2 separate regions of the Homo sapiens genome follow, and region 2 is linked to region 1. The links are contacts of gene promoters, found by promoter capture Hi-C in human tissues and cell types (Jung and others, 2019). All regions are on one chromosome and are shown on one strand. Each heading gives the region's core, a stretch centred on a gene start or on the middle of the fragment in contact. The rest is flanking DNA. Distances are from core to core; before and after follow the strand shown. Region 1 holds the start of BEND3 (BEN domain containing 3). Region 2 overlaps SOBP (sine oculis binding protein homolog).

The links. The method cuts DNA at HindIII sites, captures the fragments that hold promoters and counts their contacts. A contact is called where the count stands out against the background at its distance.
Region 2: a fragment that was not itself captured here is called in contact with the fragment with the promoter of BEND3 in region 1 in 1 of the 25 tissues and cell types used here (H1 embryonic stem cells).

Annotation. Positions count from the first base shown.
Region 1 is chr6:107,111,731-107,117,242 of GRCh38, reverse strand. It overlaps BEND3 (BEN domain containing 3), which reads left to right and starts at 1,728. Exons shown (of 4, transcript NM_001367314.1): 1 at 1,728-2,153. RefSeq lists enhancers at 1-478, 479-1,242 and silencers at 1,835-1,884, 1,925-1,974, 2,105-3,014. The HindIII fragment of the contact is 9,723 bases long and covers 1-4,578 here.
Region 2 is chr6:107,634,584-107,639,713 of GRCh38, reverse strand. SOBP (sine oculis binding protein homolog) reads right to left here. Exons shown (of 7, transcript NM_018013.4): 6 at 4,245-5,130. The coding sequence ends at 4,248. Among named protein-coding and RNA genes, the nearest start is that of SOBP, 150 kb to the right of the region's middle. The HindIII fragment of the contact is 5,510 bases long and covers 162-5,130 here.

The DNA.
Region 1 (5,512 bases), core at 479-2,978:
ACATTCTTAAAGCACCACAGCAAAGTGATTTAAATGCAAAATGTGCTTAAGTGCTACTTAACTATTCCTAACTCTTCTACTGGGAAATCCTAGAAAACTGAACTAATGAAATGCAACTTCTACTTTAAAAATTCTAATTATAACTGTCACATTAAATTGAAGGTGAGAATAAAACTGGTGTATCTGTTAACTAAGTCAAGCGATGTACTGTGTCGTACGTGTTATTTAATGTGCAAGTGTAAAAGTCAAGTTCTCTGCAGAAATCGAAGTGCCTCCCCTCAGTCTTCTGCGAATGTATAAATTAACCATTCTCCCCCAAGCAGTCCTCCTCCCTTCCTCCCTCCGCCCTATTTTAAATGTAGATAGGGCGACCTAAGTCTTTTGAATTTGAAGGGCTGCTATCTCGGCCCCATTCTTTTCATCATCCTGTTTTCAATGACACTGAGCACGTATAGATTCTTCTATAAAAGCACCCCCTGGATGCAGGGCTTGGTTCTTCAGGCTGCTTGCTTAATTTTGCATAGCAATTAGTACTGACTTCACTAAACCAGTAATCCAAATACAGCTCGAGAATGTTCCACGTAGTTCCTCAAACTTAACCCTGTGCCTTTTGATTTCAAGCCCGAAGGGGGGGAACTTGCATAATTACTAAATTCCCAATTGGAGTGGTCTGAAGGAGGGTACGGTAAACCCAAACTATACGTTAATTCAAACCCTCGCCGCGACTGGGCAGCAAGGAGCCAACATATGCCTTCTTTTAAAAATCTATTCTACCTATTCACTGACCGCGCAGGGCCGTGCCACATGGTCCTCCCTTGCAGCCAGTCAGCTGTGAGCAGCAGATGGGATCATTTGCATTTTTCTTTTTATACTTTCTTTGATCGGCAAATTAAAGGATTTTTCTTAAATTTACATTCTCATTGTTTGCCTAAAATACAAACGTGGCTAAACTGTTGAATTGGGCTTCCCTGACTCTCACCCAGCACCTCCCCCTCCCCCTACCCAGCCACTGAGACTTGAGAAAATACCCGAGGGGTAGATTTCGTATTTATCAACTGGGAATCTACAGTCCAAGAGTTAGGAGTAGACAGAATCAGCCTTTATTGAGTTGGTGACTCGTGTTTTTCTATTTTAGGCGCTCGGCGCAGACAGCCCGTGGGTTTGTGTTTGTGGGGTGTGTGTCTGTGAGCGCGGGCGCTTCCGAAGCTCTCGCTCCGCAGCCTCACACCCCAGAACTTCGGGTTGCAAGAGCAGATTTTAGCTCTGAGGCTCACAACAGAGGGCGGCCACCGTGCAGGGGGAGTGGCCAGAGCCAGCTTTTCCCAGCGCCAGGGTCGCTCTCCCGGGTCCCGCCGGACTCCATGCCGCCCCGCGGGGCCGCAGGAGCCACCCGGGCCCTCGCGCCCCAAGGTCTTTGTGCCGGTGGCGGCGCGGGAAGACCGGCCCCGGGGGCCTGGGCTGCGGCCCAAAGGCCAAAAATGCGGGAGAGGCGTGGGCGCGAGGCGGGACAAGCTCCGCACAGTCGCCGTCCCGCAAGGGGCAAAAAAGTAGAAAAAGCCGTTTGGGGCCAAACTCTCGGGTCTGAGAAACCACGTTTCCGAGGACGAACTCGCGGTGGGAGGACACATGGGGTACAGGGGACATTGTTCGCGGCGCCTGCCCGGCGCGCCGTGGGTGCGCGGCCGCCGCCCCCGCCCCGGGCAGCCAGCGCGGGCCCACGTGGAGCCACTGCGCTGGCCGAGCGCGCCGGGCCGCCTGGGTCCCGGGAGTGCGCGCCCGAGCTCCCCGCCGCGGCCGTTCACGCCCGAGCGCCGCCGCCGCCGGTCCCGCGTGTGCCCCGCTGAGGGGGAGGGGCGGGCCGGGGGTGGGGGCGGAGGGGTTGTGGTTCCACTGCAGCGGGGGCTCCTGTGTCCTTGTGCGGAAATGACACACGGAGTCCCGTCACGTCACGCGAGAGCGCAGCGCACGGACACACACAAAGAGAGGGGAAAATACACGGCGCTCGCCCGCCCGCCGCCCCCAGCGCCTCCCCGGGCCGCCCTGGCCAGGCCCTCCGCGCGCGGCCCCCACTCCCCGGCCCCGCGCCCTCCCCCCCACGTGGCGCCCAAACTCGGCGCGGGCCCGCCCGGCAAAGTACAGAACTCGCGTCCCAGGTAAGTGCGGGGCGGATCAAGCCGGCCGCGCGGCGGCGGCAGCGTTGGCGGCTCCGGGGCGAGCGGCCGGTAGAGTGGCTGCAACATCCATGCCGGGGTGGGGGCGGGAGCAGGGGAGGGGACGCGGAGGGGGGCTGCTCCGAGCGCGCCCGCCGGTAGTAGCGCCCACCCCCGCGCGGGCCGAGCGACCGGAGCGGGCGCCGGGCGCCCACGGGCTCGCCGCGCCCATTGTGCTGCGCGCCCCTTTGTGCCCGCTCGGAACGCGGCGGCTCCATGGCGTTCTGGGGAGCACGCGCGCCGCGCGGGGGCGGGGGGTTCGCGCGGTGGAACCGTCCGCGCCGCCGCCGCCGCCCGCCCCACTCGCGCCGCGCGCCGGCCCCGCACCCCCGCCGGGCGCCGCGATGGAGCGGCCGGGGCGGCCGGAAGGCTCTGCCGTACTCGCGGCGGCTTGGCGCTCGCGCTCGGCGGGGCTTTGGCGGGGCACTGCTCGGCGTGTGGAAGGGGGTGTCGGAGCGGGAGCAGGGGGCGGGGACTGGAGGGAGATGCCGGGCGGCGAGCGGGAGGCCGGGGGAGCAGCCGCTCGGAGGAACGAAGCCTCCGGAGGCTGCAAATGGAGCGAGGCCGGCCCGCGGCGGCGGCGGCCGGGAGCGGAGAGGGATGGGCCCCGCCGCCAGGGGGCGCAGCGCTCCCTTCCCGGCCGTTCCACGGCGGTTCGCGGTTCCCGCTGCCCAGGAGCTGGAGGCGGGCCCGGCGCCTTGGGTGTGCACCCGGGCTGGCGCGAGGCCTGGCCGGCCGGCCGCAAAGCTGAAGCCTGGGGCGCTCGCCGCTCCTCGTGAGCGCTCCTTTCCTTCTCTATGATAAACGTGATTTCCCACGCATGCTTTGCCCTTGCCTCATCCGTGAGCTGTGCACCACCGATTTGGAGGCCCTTGTGTGCTTGTTTACCTACGTCTCCCTATGTAGCTATTTTAAACAAGGTGTTTTTACAGAGATAAAAGTTTTATTGATTGCTCAGGTGGTCTTTCTGGAAGAATTCTGCACGTAAACGCTAACTCGACAAGAGTGCCGGGAGGAACAAGGTTACTCACTAGAGTTGGAAATGTGCAGTTCATCTCCTTAAAGTAACTTTTGAATGGTTGAATACAAATAGTAAACATGCCACAGGGCAGCGTGGCATAGTGCCAGAAAGCTACGGTTGCAGGAAACTGAGGTAAGGAACTGAGTCCTTCAGGTAGCCAGGTATATAAACGGCTGGGATGGAGGACTTTCTCTTGTTACCCGCTCCCCACTTCCACCCTTGCAGTCCGTTTTTCTCTCTTTTTTTTTTAAACCATTCATCCCTAGATATTGGCTTTATACTACCATACAAGAGCCTGTCAAGCTTTCCTCGGTACTGGGACTTGGGCAAGATTTTTTATCTCCCTCACAGTTTCACATCCCCAGCCTCTAACCCGGTGTCTCATAACTTAGTAGGCGTTCAGTGCGTATTTCCTAAATGAATGGAGAGAGCCTCTTGGATTCTAGAGGAAAGATGGAGCCAGAGCGCCAGTTGCTGCTGCTGGGTTAGCTGGTGTCTGTGTGGCCCTTGAAATCTGTCACATCAACCTCCTGTCATGGAACATGAGTTTTTTTTTTGTTTTTTTTTTTTTTTTGAGACGGAGTCTCGCTCTGTCACCCGGGCTGGAGTGCAGTGGCTTGATCTCTGCTCACTGCAACGTCTGCCTCCCGGGTTCAAGCGATTTTCCTGCCTCAGCCTCACGGAGTAGCTGGGATTACAGTCCATGTGCCACCATGCCTTGCTAATGTTTGTATTTGTAGTAGAGACGGAGTTTCACCATGTTGCCCAGGCTGGTTTCCGGACCTCAGGTGATCTGCCTGCCTGGCCTCCCAAAGTGTTGGGATCACAGGCATGAGCCACCGTGCTTTTTTTTTTTAGACAGAGTCTCGCTCTATCACCAGGCTGTAGTGCAGTGGCGTGATCTCTTCTCGCTGCAACTTCCGCCTCCCAGGTTCAAGGGATTTTCCTGCCACAGCCTCCCGAGTAGCTGGGACTACAGGCGCGTGCCACCACTCCCGGCTAATTTTTTGTATTTTTAATAGAGACGGGCTTTCACCGTGTTAGCCAGGATGGTCTCAATCTCCTGACCTCATGATCCGCTCACCTTGGCCTCCCAAAATGTTGGGATTACAGGCGTGAGCCACCGCGCCCAGCCTTTCTTTTTTTTTTTTTTTTCTTGAGACAGAGTTTTGCTCTTGTTGCCCAGGCTGGATTGCAATGGTCTGATCTTGGCTCACCGCAACCTCTGCCTCCTGGGTTCAAGTGATTCTCCTGCCTCAGCCTCCCAAGTAACTGGGATTATAGGCGCGCGCCACCATGCCCGGCTAGTTTTGTATTTTTAGTAGAGAGGGGATTTCTGCATGTTGGTCAGGCTGGTCTCGAACTCCCGACCTCAGGTCATTCGCCAGCTTCGGCCTCCCAAAGTGCTGGGATTACAGACGTGTACCACCACGCCCAGCGTTTTTTTTTGTTGTTGTTGATACCAGAGATGCCATCTTCTTGCTGAAGAACTAATATAATGGGAAAGTTTTATGTGATTCCGCCTACCTTCTCCATGCCCAGCAAGACGATAGGCTGGTTAGGAACTGGCAGATGAGACAGTCAGCATCCCAACAATCTATTAACAGGTGCCATATTGACACATTTTCTTTACATCCTCTCCCTGTGGGTTCTTTCTTGGCTCCTAAGCACCCCTGTGTGAGCAGAAGCATAGCAGAATGTCCAATAATTACAAAGAGAAAAATTGGAGTGAGCCCTGACACAGGTTTGATTAGGTGAAAATGTAATATCCTATATTAATGTCTCACCTGCTACTTTTTAGCGCTGCCTAGAAAGTCCCTGGAAACAATGAGAAGGAAAACAGCATGTTTATATGAATTGTATTGACACCATGATGAAAAGTTTAAAGACCTCAAATTGTATAATGTAGAAGCATAGAGTATGAAGGTCGCTAGCCAACCAGCAAAAATGATTTGGTGTTTGTATATGGGAGGCTGGGATGTAGTGTTTTTTTCCTGGTGCTTAATTTTTTTTTTTTTTTTTTTTTTTTTGAAACGGAGTCTCACTCTGGTGCCCAGGCTGGAGTGCAGTGGCGCGATCTCGGCCCACTGCAACATCCATCTCCTGGGTTCAAGTGATTCTCCTGCCTCAGCCTCCCAAGTAACTGGGATTACAGGTGCGTGGCACCACACCCATCTAATTTTTGTATTTTTAGTAGAGATGGGGTTTCACCTTATTGGCCAGGTTGGTCTTGAACTCCTGACCTCAAGTGATCCACCGGCCTCAGCCTCCCAAAGTGTTA
Region 2 (5,130 bases), core at 1,667-4,166, 520 kb before region 1:
ACTGTAGAAATTCAGAAAATGTACAAATACAAACAGCTATCCCTCAAGCTCCTAGGCAAAGACAAAGAAGGGAGTATTCCATTTATAAATGGAATTCTTTGTGGATAGAATAGTTCGGAAAATGTTTATACATTGTTTTCCTTATTATTCGGGGGGATATTTTTTCCAGCTTACAGAAGCTGCAGAACTGGCATTTGGAGTCTTAAAAGTTGAAGATCAAAGGAAGTTTACAACCTTTTAAAATCTTCAACTAAACTTAATTAGTTCTGCATCTGGGGAAAATAGTTGTCCACTGAAATCATTTGTAATCATATCAACACACAAGAATGCATAAAGGCAGGTAACCAGGAACAGAATAATTTCCAAATGGGGAAAAAAAAACCCTATAATTTACAAAGAACTAGCAAATAAGACTTCCTTGAAGACAACTGTAGCTGCCTCGGTTGCTAATTTCTAGATACTTTGGTCTGCTTTTGATCTATTTTAAATGATTTTTTTAAACAGTACTACAGACTGGGAGCGGCGGCTCACACCTGTAATCCCAACACTTTGGGAGACCAAGGTGGGCAGATCACTTGAGGTCAGGAGTTTGAGACCAGCCTAGCTAACATGGTGAAACCCCATCTCTACCAAAAATATAAAAAATAGCTGGGCATGGTGGCATGTGCCTGTAATCCCAGCTGCTCAGGAGGCTGAGGCAGGAGAATTGCTTCAACCCCGGAGGCAGAGGTTGCAGTGAGCCCAGATTGTGCCACTGCACTCCAGCCTGGGCAACAGACCAAGACTGTCTCAAAAAAATAATAAATAAAATAAAATAAAAATAATAAAATAGTACTACAGTATGAAAAAGGCAGACATAGTGAGAAGAATGAAGAGCTGACTGAAGTTATTGACAGATTATCCTATATAATATATAATGAATATATATGAGAAATAATATATAATGAATCACCAACAAGCACACGGAGAAATCATTCACCTGCACCTCACCCACCACATCTCAGCCTGAGTTTTGCTTTTGGTTTGTAACACTTTCCACTTTGGCTTTTAACTTGTCACCAGTGTTCAGCATCAGGGCACAAAAGCCATACGGTCCTTTATTTAGTGGATACACTTCCAATTTCCCCAACCATATGAACGGTCTGGGTTTCTGAAGGCATAGAAGAAAAACAGCACCACATGTGCACAAAAAAACAGGAAGGGGCCTGGGCACGTTGGCTCACACCTGTAATCCCAGCACTTTGGGAGGCCGAGGTGGGTGGATCACCTGAGGTCAGGAGTTCGAGACCAGCCTGGCCAACATGGCAAAACCCTGTCTCTACTAAAAATACAAAGATTAGCTGGGCATCGTGGCGCGTGGCTATAACCCCAGCTACTCAGGAGGCTGAGGCAGGAGAATCACTTGAACCCAGGCAGCCGAGGTTGCAGTGAGCCAAGGTCGCGCCACTGCGCTCCAGCCTGGGTGACAGATTGAGACTCTGTCTCAAAAAATAATAAATAACTAAATAAATAAATAAAACAAACCAGGAAGGGCCAGAGAATGTGAGTAAATTGTGGCAGGTTGAGACTGTGCTGTGAGGTGACACGGAACTTCTGAGGGCAAGAGGAAATGTGATTTAGTGGAGGAGAGGTGGTTTTTCCCCCATCTTAAATCACTTGCCTTGTCACCCTTTCGTAGCTGACAAAGCCTGAGTATTTCTGTATTTCTGATTTTAAAGAAAAGCTGTAATTTCTTGGGGGACCCATCATTGAAAGAACTCTTCAATCTCAAGAGGTAGTGGGCAATTTCATCACCACATCTTCTGAAATTGGCTGGAGCCAGGTTGATATTTTTAATGATTCTGGTCCACATACAAGACTGATTCTTTATTCAGAAACATATATCATCCAAATAGCCATCGTGTATTTTATGTTTTTATGTTATTTTGGTCCCAAGCTACTCATATGTTAGTGTCACTATTCTTGACCTGGTCACTTCTCACTCCAATGATGGTATAATAGTAAAATCTCTCACCCTCCCATTCTTCTTCTTTTCAGCCTCACCTGAATGAGTGATATTAGAATGTGTTTAAAGTGACAATTCCCAATGCTTTCTGACTTTCTGAAGGCCGTCACTTTTTTTGTCACACATCTTCCCATTACTCACAGCTTTGTCAACCAGATTAAATTACTCTCGTGAAGAAATCAGGGGCATTTTCAATTGAGGTGACTGTGAGAAGGCTGAGGCCATCTGTCTTCAGGCAGCAGAACTTGTAGATGTAAAATCAAGAAGGAATGGTGAACTCATTTTTAGTATTCTTCCTCTACTGGCAAAGCCATCAGAGGAAAAGGAAACCTCGAACGATGGTGGCTGAGAAACCTTTCTTCCTCAACTGACAAGTCTCCTTGCTCTGGTCTGTGCTTCCCAAGCAATCTCCTGGCTATGCTAGGGGCCCAACTTAGAGACCAGGGACTGGACACACCACAGCAAGTGCTGTGCTCCACGTTTGTATTTCCCACTGTGGAGTAATGGGTTGGTAATTTAGGCTTGTTGGTGCTGCAGAAACAAGAATTCAACTGTCTGAACACTTAGAGAAGTTAGGAGGTAGACTCAGTTTTTGTTTGTTTTTTAAGAAACTTTCCCCTATGACAACTGAGGGTTGTTTTACCCACTGAGGTGGGTAAAACAATTTTAGTATGTAGGGTAATAAAGAAACTAATTAGCCTATTCTCCTACAGTGGTTTTTTAAAAAATGCAGCTCTGGAGTCAGACAGCCTGGATTTGCATCTCAACTCTGCTAATTTGGTAAAATCTTGGGCAAGTTACTTTAATGTCTCTGTCTTGGTTTCCTCATCAATAAAATGAAGACGATAATTGTCCTATGGACCCAGATCCAAATAAATACTACCGAAAAACACTTAGAAGACAGCCTGCATACAAATGTGAGCAATTATTCATCTTACGAGATCCACTCTCCTGGCCCCCGCTTCCTTCCTCCTGGAGTTTGCACTCCCACCAGATGGGGGCACGCCATCATTTACCTTTGTATCTCCCTAGTCCCTGGAAGGAGCAGTGTACAAGTTAGGTGCTCAATAAATGCTCATCTCTCCTCTTCCTCTCCATAAGAAGTTGATAAACTCAACTGAATTTTGGCCTGTTTGATGCCCGCTTGGATAGACGGGAGAGCTTGGGCTGTGTCCAACAGGCCTGAGTTGAATACGGCTTCCCCACGTACCAGCTCTGCTTCGGGCACAGTATCTAAGCTTCATCTGCCTCCTTGGTGAGATACAGATGATGCCTATTCCACCAGAATTGGCAGGAGGAGCAAATGAGGCCACCTCTGCCTATGACAGGCACACATGTTAGTTCCCCTTCCCAATATTGAAAAATTTAACTCACTCTTGGCGGCTCACTTGGCATTAGGCAGGAGTCTGTCTATGAGGTCAGAGATGTGCAGTGTCACTCACTTTAGCAATGCCACCCTCTTCCCTATCGAAGCCTCCCATTACCTGCAAAGGTGAGCAACTCATCAGCTAAGCCGCTGGGCCCCAAAAGGGGGAGAGAGCAAAGCTGGTCAGTGACGCTTGAGGCCTACCCTGGGGGATGCTGCTTGGTGCCAAACTGCAGGAAGGAGACCCCATGAACAGGAAAGACACCCTGCCAGGCAAATAGGACTCAGTGGCCTGGGTTCAGTTGACATATGCATGTAAGAGTTAGGTTTCATTCTCACTTTACAAATGGAATCCCGTCCTTATCAAGAAAATTTGGTGACATTCTGCCAATGAGGCAACCAGCTCTATTTAGTAGGTGGCCCAGCTCATGGGTTCACTGGACATTTCACCACTGCCCTGCAACCTCATGATCACACATTTAGGTGTCCCAAGTTAATCTCTTCTCCCTCCCCCCATCCTCCTCTTCTCCAATAGGGTGATTTACGGAGATGAGCATGATAATAAAGTGTAATTGGAGAGACAATATTTCATGACAGGTTGGAGACTGAGCTCTCCCCTCAAGTAAGTGACCCGGGGCTTGGCACTCACATGCTGTGGCTCAGTTTCCTCGGCTGTAAAATGGGAATGATGCTACTGAACAACTCAGCATCAGAGCTGCTGGCTCAGAATGTTGATAGCGTGACCACACCGTGTGCAATATAAAACACACACGGTAAAATCATGACTATAATTACAACTCTCCCCTCTGCCTTGTCAGAAGTAAGGAGAGGTGCACTGGCTGGTGTGGAGGAGCGCCCGGCGGACATACAAACCTTTTACTTATTCTGATTTCTAATTCGGAGGCACCTCCTTTTGAGCGGCGGCTCCAGGTCCTCAGGCCCGGCGCTGAGCATGGGCGAGGAGATGATGCACGGTGCCATGGCAGCCTTCTCCGCGGGTTTTGGCACAGGCTGGATCACGCAGCCGGTCTTGGGCAGCATCCGCAGAGCATAGGCATGGTCCTCGTCCGCGGGGTTATTAAGGTTCGGGTCTGACTTGTCGCCCCCCGCCAGGGCCTCCTCGCCCATCAGCTTTTTGGCCGCCTCCCCGTCCAGGTGGCAGTTGGAAGCACAGTTATTCTCCTTGACCGACTCTAGCTCGCTCACCGCCGGTTCCTCAGGCGACAGCAGCTTCTTGGGGGGCGCGGGCGGCGGCGGCGGCGGCGGCTGCTCGGGAGGCGGCTCCGCGCTCTTAGCGCCCTCGGCGGCGGCGCCGCGCGTGCCGTTCACGATGACGTTGCAGGCCGCGGCCGCCTCGGGGCCCGCCGGGGCGCCCGGGCCTGGGTCGCCGGCGGCGGGCGGGCTGCAGTGGCCGTCCCTGCAGCCGCCGCAGGTCCTGCGCTCCGCGGCGCTCGGCTCGCGCTCCGCCTTGACGTGCGCGTGCAGCGCGCGGTGGATCACGTTGTGCAGCCGGGCTCGGTGGCCCACGGTCAGGTCGATGACGCCGTCCTGCGGGCCCTGCAGCACGCCTGGGAAGCCGAGCTGGCCGCCCGCGCCCGGGGGGCCCGGGGGGCTGCCGGCGCGCCGCGTCAGGTCCACCACCTCGCTCCGGCCATGCTCGGCGGGCGTGGGCGCCAGGCTCAGGGCCTGGCCCGAGCAGCCGGGGGGCGAGTCCGCGGACTTGGACGAGCCCTGCTTGGAGTCCCGGGGGGACAGGGAG